Regions from separate parts of the Homo sapiens genome. Here region 2 is linked to region 1. The links are contacts of gene promoters, found by promoter capture Hi-C in blood cells and fetal thymus (Javierre and others, 2016). All regions are on one chromosome and are shown on one strand. Each heading gives the region's core, a stretch centred on a gene start or on the middle of the fragment in contact. The rest is flanking DNA. Distances are from core to core; before and after follow the strand shown.

Region 1 (5,930 bases), core at 1,080-3,579:
TTGAGACAGAGTTTTGCTCTTATCACCTAGGCCGGAGTGCAGTGGCACGATCCCAGCTCACTGCAACCTCTGCCTCCTGGGTTCAAGCAATTCTCCAGCCTCAGCCTCCTGAGTAGCTGGGATTACAGAGGTGTGCCACCATGCCCTGCTAATTTTTGTATTTTTAGTAGAGACAGGTTTTCGCCATGTTGGCCAGGCTGGTCTGGAACTCCTGACCTCAGGTGATCTGCCCGCCTCAGCCACCTAAAGTGCTAAGATAATGGGTGTGAGCCACCATGCTCAGCTAGATAGAATGTTTTTTACTAACGTACTTACTTAGACTAATTTGAATTTTGGCATTGTAAGTTATACGTGTGCTACAGGAAGTCACCTGGAGAAATGGGTGCTCCTACTAATAGCTGGTATATATTGAGAAAACTATGCTTTGAGCTGTGTTTGGGTTGAAATTTGAAAAAGTCATCATTTCAATTTTCTTTCATAGTTGGCAAAGAGAAAAATGAGACTGGTGTCGAAGACTCTTCTAACGAATAAAATAGTCTATATATACTGTCGTGTCCAATTAATGTTGTATATATAATAACTTAAGTGAGCAAATTCCACTCCACATAGCCTACAGGTTAAATAAAAGTAAATTTTTTTTAATGTATTTCAAGGCCAAGTGTTACATTCCAGAAAGATTAATATGACTTTTGTATTTAACTCTGAATATCTCAGGTGAAAAAACTCTATTGAATAGTGCAAGAACTTATGAATATCTCAGAAACCCTCTTAAATGGAGCAAGAGACAAGAATCTGTGCAAATTTAAATTTTAAGAGACCCATTCTCCATTTGGCTAATAAACATATTCTTTACGACCTTAAAGTTACTCACATATAAGTGTTTTTTGTCTCCTTCTCTGGTACTTTGAAAAGTTTAAGGACTTGAGATACTAGGATTCTCTTCTCCCATAAATAACGTATTAAGTTTAGCATAATTAAAAATATTGTTAGGTTTGTAATTTCCATTTCCACTATTCTTTTTTTTTGAGACGGAGTCTCGCTCTGCAGCCCAGGCTGGAGTGCAGTGGCCCAATCTCGGCTCACTGCAACCTCTGCCTCCCGGGTTCAAGCAGTTCTCCTGCCTCGCCTCCCGAGTAGCTGGGATTACATGCGCGTGCCACCATGCCCGGCTAATTTTTTGTATTTTTAGTAGAGATGGGGTTTCACCATGCTGGCCAGGCTGGTCTTGAACTCCTGGCCTTGTGACCCGCCTGCCTCAGCCTCCCAAAGTTCTGGGATTACAAGCATTTCCACAATTCTTTAAACCTTATGGATGCTCTATTATAATACTTTGCTTTAAGAGTGGTCTACAAAACCACAGATAAGGCAAAGAAGAATAAAGCAAGATTGTCCCTTAGTGGTTACAATAACTAGGAGTAGGGATTCTGACATTCTTCCAGATTCTTAGGTGTTTACCCCACCTCGACCCATGCAATTTTTGTAGATTTTACAACACTTTCTTATTATTAGTTATGGGAATGACTATTTCAAGTTTGAGCTGTTTCCCAGAATATTTTCAAGAACAAATAACTCTAAAAAAATAACTGGAACTTTTATAGGAATGCATTCCCTGCAGATGTGCATCATCACCTAATATGCAAGGGTTCCACATGCCTCAACAGCTCATGACATTCGAAATCAATGTTTGAGTTTGATAATGTCTTATCTAACTAATTAAAAATAATTTTAACGTGCAAATTTCTTGTAACATCTTAATAGCATAAGAAATTAAAATATAAGTCAATAGCAAACAGAAATGATACAGAGAAACTGAAGCACACAGATGAATATAAATATCCCAATAAAACTTGTTCCGGGCAGCGGGCTGCAGGAATACGTTGCAAACGCAAGAGCAAAACAGGATGCAAACGTGGGAAAAATGGGAAATAAGTGGAGTTAGGACGGACAAAGACTGAGAAAGAGGAAGCAATCCCCTAAAAAGCAGAGAGGTTCCTCAGATGAAGGAGGGCAAAACGTCAACCACCACCTCAGCTCTGTTCTCTACTAATGCCCAAATGCAAGTGCATGGTAGGTAAAGGTGGGTTTTGCTCACACCGTTTTCTTAATTTGGCAAACTACGGTCAGATCCACATTAGCCGTTAAGTTTCCAGCCAGCAGTCCTTGAGAAATTCTCCAGGAAAGAAGACAGCCGTGTCGTCTAGTGACGCGCATGCGCAGTCTCAGCGCTGCGCGCTCCGTGTTTTATCCTACCCAGGCCTGGAAGGAAGTGACGCGAGGCTGAGGGGCGGGTTGCGCTGTGCGTCCGGAAGTGTCTCGCAGATAGTAAATAATCTCGGAAAGGCGAGAAAGAAGCTGTCTCCATCTTGTCTGTATCCGCTGCTCTTGTGACGTTGTGGAGATGGGGAGCGTCCTGGGGCTGTGCTCCATGGCGAGCTGGGTAAGGTGCTTTTTGCGGCCTCTGGGGTGCTAGTGTGAGAGACCAAAGAGAAGGCGATCCGAGCCGGGGCTGGGTGAGCCCGGCGGGAATGTGGTGCCCCACCCAACAGGGAGTGCCCTCTCTGTCCCCGTTTTCTTCCCGTCTCCTCTCGTCACTCAGACTCAGCTTCAGAGCTTTGGGTCTTGCGAAGAACTGATCACTGGCCGTAAGGTTTAGTGGCGATGGGAAGATGACTCAAATTGAGGAAGAGAACTAGAATAGGGCCCCTCCCCCACCCCTGCTTCGTGAACGCTGTCTCCCATTCTTTGAGGTCCCTTTTCGTGGTTTTGTTTGTATCTGCGCAGGCCATCTCTACAAAGGTCTTTGCCCCTTTCCTTCGGTGGGGTACCCACTCTGTTGTCATCTCTTTCCTGGCGACCTCAGACTGCCGCACTGTCGTTCCTGGATTCATGTCGCCCTCTTTGTTCAGTGGCGCAGATTATGATTAAAAAGTGCCTGTCGTCATTTGGAACCGCCTGGCAGTAATGCTAATGTAGTAATATTGTTTTTGAAACAAATAGTCATAGCTCTGCCGTAACTGTTTGAAGTGTCAATTTCAGATTTCAACTTAAAATTGAAATTTCAGATGACACACGCATGCCTTGTGCCTAATGACAATTTTGTCTTTAGGCACAAAACATGCGTGTGTCATCTGAAATTTCATGCTTAATTAGCTGTACATTGCATTTTCATTAAAGAGTTGTTAGAGTAAAACTATTTTCAGTATAGTGGCAAGACTTTGGTCCGTGTGGCACAAATTTCAGTTTATTTAAGATAATCTCTGCCCCCTCCAAAATAGTAGGCAAAACATTGGCAGTGCAGTTAATAAAGATATTTGTAATTTTAGGCGAGGTATTTGGACTCAAATCACTTTTCTTTAGTCTGGAATTTGTTAATTCTGTTTCTAACAATTGCTTTTCTGACTTCCCAAATGATTCCGTTATATATACTCTTAAAGGTTTTGATATGTCTTGAACTAAAAATGTTGAATTTTAATCAAATAATAATGTGGGGATTGTTACTCCAGCCAGTCTGTTCTTTTGATTATATGGTATTTCTTCTTGCACGGAAGCCTGGAATATTTTATCTCAAGATATTAGAGAGTTTAATTATTGACTTTTATACAAAAGAGGCATATTTAGTGTGATAAACAGTTTTGAAAACTGATAATTGATTATCATATAAGATTGTTTTCATCGGTTTTTTATTGGAAGATGTTATGCAATTCAATTTGTAATGTCGTATCTTGTCCAGTTATGAAGTGGGCGTGCTGTAGTTTTTTGTATATAATAGAGATTTAAAAGATGAGATACATGTTTTCCCTTTTACAAAATAGATCGCCACCTTTATTGATTAGAAGAATGTCCGTGATAAAATTGACCCTGCCTTTTAGTTTCTGTGTTAATAGCGAAGTACATTAAAAAGGTAGAAGCAGTGAGGCAGTTTTTTAGAGATGGGGGTCTAAGTGTATTGGCCGGGCTGAAGTGCAGGGGATGGTCGTAGTGAACTGCAGCCTGGAACTGCTGGGCTTAAGTGTAACCTCAGCCTCCCAGGTAGCTGGTACTACAGGCAGGTGCTACCGTGCTCAGTTTGGAATTTATTTTATTGTTTGCAGTTTCAGTAATCTTTTTCCCTTTTCTTCCTTGTGCCTCTGTCTCTATTCATTAATTGTTTGATTTTACTGCAGGCCAATAGTCATTGAAGGGGACCATCTCTTCCACATTCTTAACAGTTAATGTGCTCATTTACTTAGAGGTTTTGATGAAATTAAAATTTATTCAGCTTTTCAAAAGTAACACTCAGAGCCTGCTGCAGTGGCTCACGCCTGTAATCCCAGCACTTGGGAGGATGAGGTGGATGGATCACTTGATGTCAGGAGTGGGAGACCGCCTGGTCAATATGGTGAAACCCCGTCTCTACTAAAAATACAAAAAAAAATAGCTGGGTATGGTGGCACATGCCTGTAGTCCCAGCTACTCGGGAGGCTGAGGCAGGAGAATTGCTTGAACTGGGAGACGGAGGTTGCAGTGAGCTGAGATCATGCCACTGCACTCCAGCCTGGGCAACAGAGCAAGACTCCATCTCAGAAAACAAAACAAAACAAAACAAAAAAACAAAAATCAGCCGGATGTGGTGGCGCACACCTGTAATCCCACTCGGGTGGCTGAGGCAGGAGAATCTCTTAAGCCCAGGAGGCGGAGGCTGCAGTGAGCCAAGATGGCGCCACTGCACTCCAGCCTGGGCAACAGAGTGAGACTCTGTGTCAAAAAAAAAAAAAACAAAAACAAAAAACAGAACAAAAAAAAAGTAACATTCAAATCATTAAATTAGATCAGGTAAGCCAGAATTAAAAACAAACCAACCTCATTCTTAATTAGTACAAGTTTCTGCAGGCTTAATCAAATTTAGTAAAAGTTTTTTCCTTATTTATAAAATAATTGTAGAAAATGTCTGAACTATAAAGAGACAAATTATGTGTAATACCACTGAGCAGAAATTGGAGTGTTAAATTGTTCACTTTTTGTTTGCTGCTAAGAGACCTAGAATTAGATTGATCATAATCCTTGGTTCATGGCAGTATAATTTTTTATTCATGCATGGTTGTCTCTTTTTTTGATTGTTAATTACTTTAAACATTATAAACATCATACCAACTAATCCTATAACTATAACATTACCAATCACTAATACCTACTTACATGCTTTTCCCCATCCCAGTCTCAACATTGGTATTAGTGAGTAGACAGAATTGATTTTTTTTTTGAATGGGTGAGCCTTATATACAATACCTATCAAGATATTTAGTTTAGTTAAGTCGTTAAGAACTAGTGATTACTGAGTGCGTATTTTTTGCCAACCTCCTAAATTTTTGTTAATACAGTGACTTGTTTTATAGAAATGATTTATAGTTGCTATGAATGGTCAAGCAATGCAGAGTAGAAATTAAATAAAAATGTCCCCCCAAAATCTTCCTTCTCTCTCAATGCATGGGTGCATTGTGTATTTGTATACACATGGGTGGATGAATAGACAAAAATATATTCTTAGGAATGGCAGCATCTTAAACATATTTTTAAGCAAAGCATTGAATTTAATGTTTCTTGAATTTAACAAAAAAAAAAGTAATTCTTAAATGTTAACATTTGTCAGGAGAGTTTCTTAAAAAGATTCTTCTAAGGAGGTGTTTCCATAGCAGTGATTTTCAACTGGACACAGTTTTGCTCCCCAGTGGGCATTTGGCAATATCTGCAGACATTTTTCATTGTCACAACCTGGGGTGAGGCGTGCCACTAGCATCTAGTTAGTTGGTAGAGGACAAGGATGCTGCTAAATCTACAATGTATAGGATAGCCCCCAACAACAAATAATTATTCAGCCCAAAATAGCAATAACAACATGGTTAAGAAAGTCTGGTTTAAGTTTAAGAAAAACATTGTATAAGACATTGAAGTTG
Region 2 (5,930 bases), core at 1,040-3,539, 260 kb before region 1:
CTGGGACTGCAGGCACCCGCCACCATGCCTAGCTATTTTTTTGTATTTTTAGTAGAGACAGGGTTTCACCATGTTAGCCAGGATGATCTCGATCTCCTGACCTCATGAACCGCCTGCCTCGGCCTCCCAAAGTGCTGGGATTACAGGCATGAGCCACTGCGCCCGGCCTATGATGATGACTTCTGTTGATGTGTGCCCACTGAGAAATCCATTCTAGGATTTTAACAAGTAACAACAACATTGCCCCAGCCCTTTGTTTGAGCCAACGCTTCCAGTTTTTAACTGGCTGCAGATTTTTAATGTTCTGAGAGTTGTCATCAGTAACACTAAAAAAAAAAAAGGGACTCAGTCTGATTAATCAGTCCTGTTTTTAGCCACGGAGGTGTTGCTAGCGGAAAGAAAAGAGCAGAAGAATAGAAGGAAATCTATACTGGCAAATAACATAGGAAAAAATCAACAGATCTAGAACATTCAACTTAAAGTCTTTATCATCCTTTATGTTCTGGCAAATAATAATAATATGAGTTTTTGCTAGTATGCCAGGCACTGCCCTTATCAATGACTAATATTCACTCACTTAATCCTCATAATAATTTATCATTTTACATGTTGAATAAATGGAAGCACAAGGAATAAAATGAACAAAATCATAAGAGCAAATGGCAGAGCTGTACTTTGAACTTGAGGGGCCAGGCTCCACAGACAGGGTAACAGATTAGTGAGCTTTGGTTATATCCTTTTTTTATTTTACTTTTTAATTAACAAATAATAATTATACATATTCATGGGGTACATAGTGATGTTTTGATACATACAATTTAGAGTGGTCAGATCATGGTATTTGCATATTCATCATCTCAAGCATTTGTCATTTCTTTGTGTTGAGAATGCTCAACATCCTCCTTCTAGCTATTTTATTTTAATTTGTTTTTGTTTTCTGAGACAGAGTCTTGCTCTATTGCCCAGGCTGGAGTGCAGTGGCACAATCTCGGCCCACTGCAAACTCTGTCTCCTGGGTTCAAGTGATTCTCCTGCCTCAGCCTCCCGAGTAGCTGGGACAATGCCACCACATCAAGCTAATTTTTATTTTTCTACACCCAGCTAATTTTTGTATTTTTAGTAGAGACGGGGTTTCACCATGTTGGCCAGGCTGGTCTTGAATTATTGACTTCAAGTGATCCACCCACCTTGCTCTCCCAAAGTGCTGGATTACAGGTGTGAGCCACTGCACAGGGCCCCTTCTAGCTATTTTAAATTATATGTTATTACTAAGTATAGTCATTCTACAGTGGCATAGAACACCAGAATTTTCATTTTCCTCTGGCTCCTCTCTATCCCCCTGTCCCTTGCCAAACATCTGCCCAAGTTGTCAAGCCACCTGAGGAAAACTAGTGGTTTATTTTCTAAGTAGGGCACCTCCCCTTATACTCACTAACGTTTTAAGAAAGTTCAAATCTTTTCTACCCAGAACACAAAATATCTCTGGGTACATGACACAGAATAGATTCTTTTTGTTCTTTCTCCTTTATACAGAGTTAAGTTTTCAGACAGCTGCTTTATAGCTTTATTGTCACCTTTTAGCCTGATTATCTGACAGTGTTAATTTAGACTTCATAGCTATTGACTAAAGCAAGTGCCTTGTACAAAGACAATGGCAAAATGGGCAAGGAGACTTTCTTTAATAAGTCCCAAATAAATAGCTTTGGTAAAAGTGTCTACTTGCTATGACAAAATACCATAGGTTCCTCAAAATAGCTTGATTTTTTAAAAAGTTGGTAGGCAAATTCAGCGTTGTCTTTAAACTGCTACTGACCTCTCATTCTCCTTTGTCTGGACTCCTCAGGGAAAATAAACCATTTTCGTTAGCACATATTCTCAGTGAACAAGCCTGATACCTTGGGTAATACAAAATAATGGAACGTTTGTGTGTGCATTGTAGTGAATAATTGATTTAGAATATATATCATTCAGAATATATGTAACTGTTAGCAATAATGAGGAGGGACATGGCTTTACTTTTGGTCTTCTAAATGAGAAAAATATTGTAGAAAACTATGATCCAAGAACGATGTTACTTTATTTCTTCTACATTTTCATGGAACAAATTACTCATTTAAATACTGACTCAAGATTCTATTTTTTTGCAGTAACTGTCATAAAACACTAGTGAGCAGACTCATTGTTAAATGGTAATACTCATGGCCTGTCAGTCACCCATTAGCATGATTGAATTAGCATTCATGTGGTAATTACCATGAATTGTCTATTTCTACCATCCTGTTTTCTCCCAGCACCAAGCATTGGGGATATCACAGAGATTTTGTGAAGTCACAGAGAAAGGCAGAAGACAGACAAATAAACAAATTGAGCTTCCTACCACCTCCACTACCACAGTATTGGCAAGAGCATCTTGAATAAATATGACAACGATGATGATGATAGCTAATATTTATTGAATAATTATTCTTTGCCAGGCATTATTCAATTGTTTTGCATATACTATCTCATTTACTGCCTCCACCCACCCTATAAAGTATGCGCTATTATTAAAACCATTCCACAGAGGATAAAACTGAGACTTAGAGACATGATGTAAGTTGCCCAGGATCACGCAACTACTGAGTAGCAGAGCTAGAATTCAAACCCAGATAATCTGAATTTAAAATCCATATGCTTAACAGTTTAACTCTACTCCAGAGTGTCTCAACCTCAGCATTGTTGACACACATGACCGGGTAATCCTTGCTGTCAGGGCTGCCCTGTGGAATGGTAAGATGCTTAGCAGCTTAGCGGTATCCCCAGCCTCTGCCCACTACATTACAGTAGCACCTTTTCTCCCTTGCTTTCCACCTCCAGTTGTGGCAGCCAAAAAGTCTCCAGACATTGTCAAATGCCCTCTAGGGGGCAAAATTTCTTCCCCATCCATGCTGAAAACCACTGTTCCACTCTAACCCCTCTTTATCTGATTATAAAACCTCATGTCATTAAATAACTTTTAGAAATATAATTTTAATGGCTGTGATAAATGTTATTGAATATTAAATTAGTGCTACACTTAAAATATTACTTTTGATTATTTAATAAAGAAAAAATTATATTTGAAAACTTAAAGCAATCAGGTTCTTTGAGATCTACCCCTTTGGTGTATATAAGATATAAAGGTAAGCTCTGTCAATTAAATAATAAGCCAGAGGTGATTTATATTGCAAAGACTGTTAACTTCATTCTATAAAATGTGTCACCATTTTTTACTCAGCCTACTTCTGAAGATAAAATGAAGGAGACTTGTGTCAGTAAGAAATCTCTTTAATAGTGAAAGAGTTTATTTGGTTACTGTATACAGACATAGCCTAAGTCAACAATCAAATAAAACATAACTGCATGCATATATTTCTGAAAATGAAAATAAATTAATTACTGACATTTTTAAAACTTCAGAATTCTATTATTTTTCTAAAATATCTAATAAATCAAAATTTACTAACACTTTGGTTTTATTTTTGCTCCTTTTAAAATATATGCTTAGATATATATTTAAAGGATGTATTTTACTATTTCTACCAATATCATTGACTAAATGCTTAAGTGCCTACTGCTATGTTAGCTACTTTAAAAAAATATAAAAATTAAGGTCTGCATTGCTGAGGAAGTTATTTAAAAACAAGTCAGACATACACAAAAGCCCTAAGAATAAGAAAAGAGAGTGTAAAACAACTAGTATTTTGTATAATTCATATTAAAGTAAAACACACACACATACACAGACCAAAGTTAGGGAAGATAGTAAAATTCATTTAATAGGCATGTTCCATATAACCATTTTGTTACAAATTTTGCATTTTCCACATGAAAAAAATCACAGTAGGCACATACTAGAAGCAAAATATGTCAGACAAAAATATCCTAAAGATGTTTCTGTTATCAAACTTTTACAATTTTTCCAAGACGTTTTTGAGGTTTGGGAAAAAGTCTGGGGCATTTTTGGCAAAAAACAAACACACTCTATCCATGTGAGTTTTGACTATTGTTCTTTCTCACCAAAAATGTCCATAATTTTCTACAAATTCCATGAAGTTTTAAATCAATCATGTTTGATTTACATTTACCAAGAATGATTTGCCCATCACCATAAAAATTGAATTAAAAATACATCAGGCTAAATAAATCCAAAAGAGAACAGTGAATTTTGTTGGGTTTACAGACAGTGGTATGCATTTCTGTGATCATGTATTATTCTTAACCTTTTCCTTCAGTGCGATTTGGAAGTAACCTGCCTTTTAATAGCTTACCTTGGACATCATCATTGCAATCAAAGTGAGTAGCATCACAACACAATTATCTAATATACACATGCTGCTTAGGGCTGCAATGTTACCACAGTTACCACCAGATTAAATGTCTCAAGAAAACAGAACCACTAAGTCTTTCAACATGCAGAAATTCAGCACTCTTGATAGATTATGAGCCTTCATTTTTCTTCATTTTGAGGCTTTTCCAATTGGTCTTGTGTTGTTTTTTCATCTTTCTCTTTTGCATCTGAAAAAAAAATTTCCATTCATATGTGGAATATATTGAAATTTATTTTGTATTATGTTAGAATAAAACCATTGGTTTTTCCTTTGTCCACCGTCCATATTTTGCCCTCAATTCAGATATGGAAACTATACAAAGAAGAGCGATATGAGTAGGTTTGGGAATCTACCTTCTCCTGATCAACTTTCTCCTATTCTACAGAGTTATGAAGTGCCAGACAGTCTTCTAGGGTATTCTCAGAGCCTCCATTTACAGATTACTAAAATGAAACACAAGCAGGTAAAGTGACTTGTCCAAAGTCAGAGACTAGTGAGTGACAGTCACAACTTGAGCTTGGGCCAACTGACTCCGTGGTGTATGTCCTTAGCCAATTCCCTATGCAGGATTGCACTCTCCCCAGCTTCTTCACACTTTCTACTCCCTTTGCTCTTTCTTAGGAGACAACCTCACTTTCTACTTCATAGGAAAAAAAAATAATCAAAGTTATCAGACAGGAGTTCCCTCAACTTCCTGCCATTAAATATCTAAAACTCCCCGTGATCTGTGCTTATTCTTTCTGCCTTCCCTCTTTTTACAATGGAAGATGCACTTGTGAGCACTGGCTATGTAATTTGTTGGTGCCCAGTGCAAAATGAAAATGCAGTACGCTTGTTCAAAAATAATGAAAAATTTCAAGACAGCAAGAATAGAACATTAAACCAAATGCAAGTCTCTTCTAATCAAGGAGCCCTATGCAACCACCCTGGTTGCACAATTTTGGAGCTGGCTCCTGGTGTTACTCCTGCTATGCAGTCTAATACCTTCATGATCCCCCATCCTATCCATTTTTGCTTCATCAAGAGGCTGACTCTAATAATCATCTGCGCTCTTCATTTTACCTGACTTTCCCTTTCTCCTGGCTCCTTCGTTCCCACAAGTCACTACTGTCTTTAAACTAACAAAGACCCTCTTTCAACTGTAAGTCTTCCACATACTATCTTCTCTTTCATCCTTTAAAAGGTATCCCTCTTTTGTTGTCTCCGTTTTTAAGTGAAACTATTTAGGTCTACTACTCCTGCAAAACTGCTCCTACCAAGTCATCAATGGTATCTTTGAAATCTGATGGACTCTATTCAGTTCTTCAACTCTCATTCATCAAATATTTATTAAGCATGTACTACGTACAAGGCAATGAACAAAACATGAATCCCGGCTCTCAAGGAAAATCTGATGAGAAATATGGACAATAAACAAAATAAATGAAATGTGTGGTCAATAAGAAGTAAAAAGGGCTAATGAAGACATTAAAACAGGAGTGGAAAATAGAAATTTTCAAGAAGTCTTGTGGCCTGAAGGATGCAATTCTAGACAGAGTTAGCTGGGAATGCCTCACTGAGAAGGGGACATTTGAGTAAAGG

Evidence for each region. Contacts are between HindIII fragments. The CHiCAGO score rates a contact against its expected background, and 5 or more counts as called.
Region 2: a contact is called between a fragment that was not itself captured here and the fragment with the promoter of SERINC1 in region 1, in 3 of 17 cell types (M0 macrophages, megakaryocytes and erythroblasts). The highest score is 5.5, in M0 macrophages.

Annotation. Positions count from the first base shown.
Region 1 is chr6:122,468,206-122,474,135 of GRCh38, reverse strand. It overlaps SERINC1 (serine incorporator 1), which reads left to right and starts at 2,329. Exons shown (of 10, transcript NM_020755.4): 1 at 2,329-2,437. The coding sequence starts at 2,399. It also overlaps a transcript of PKIB not described here. RefSeq lists enhancers at 2,170-2,229, 2,280-2,679. The HindIII fragment of the contact is 8,379 bases long and covers 1-5,930 here.
Region 2 is chr6:122,723,734-122,729,663 of GRCh38, reverse strand. It overlaps PKIB (cAMP-dependent protein kinase inhibitor beta), which reads right to left. Exons shown (of 5, transcript NM_181795.3): 5 at 3,291-4,536. The coding sequence ends at 4,469. Among named protein-coding and RNA genes, the nearest start is that of FABP7, 53 kb to the left of the region's middle. The HindIII fragment of the contact is 9,461 bases long and covers 1-5,930 here.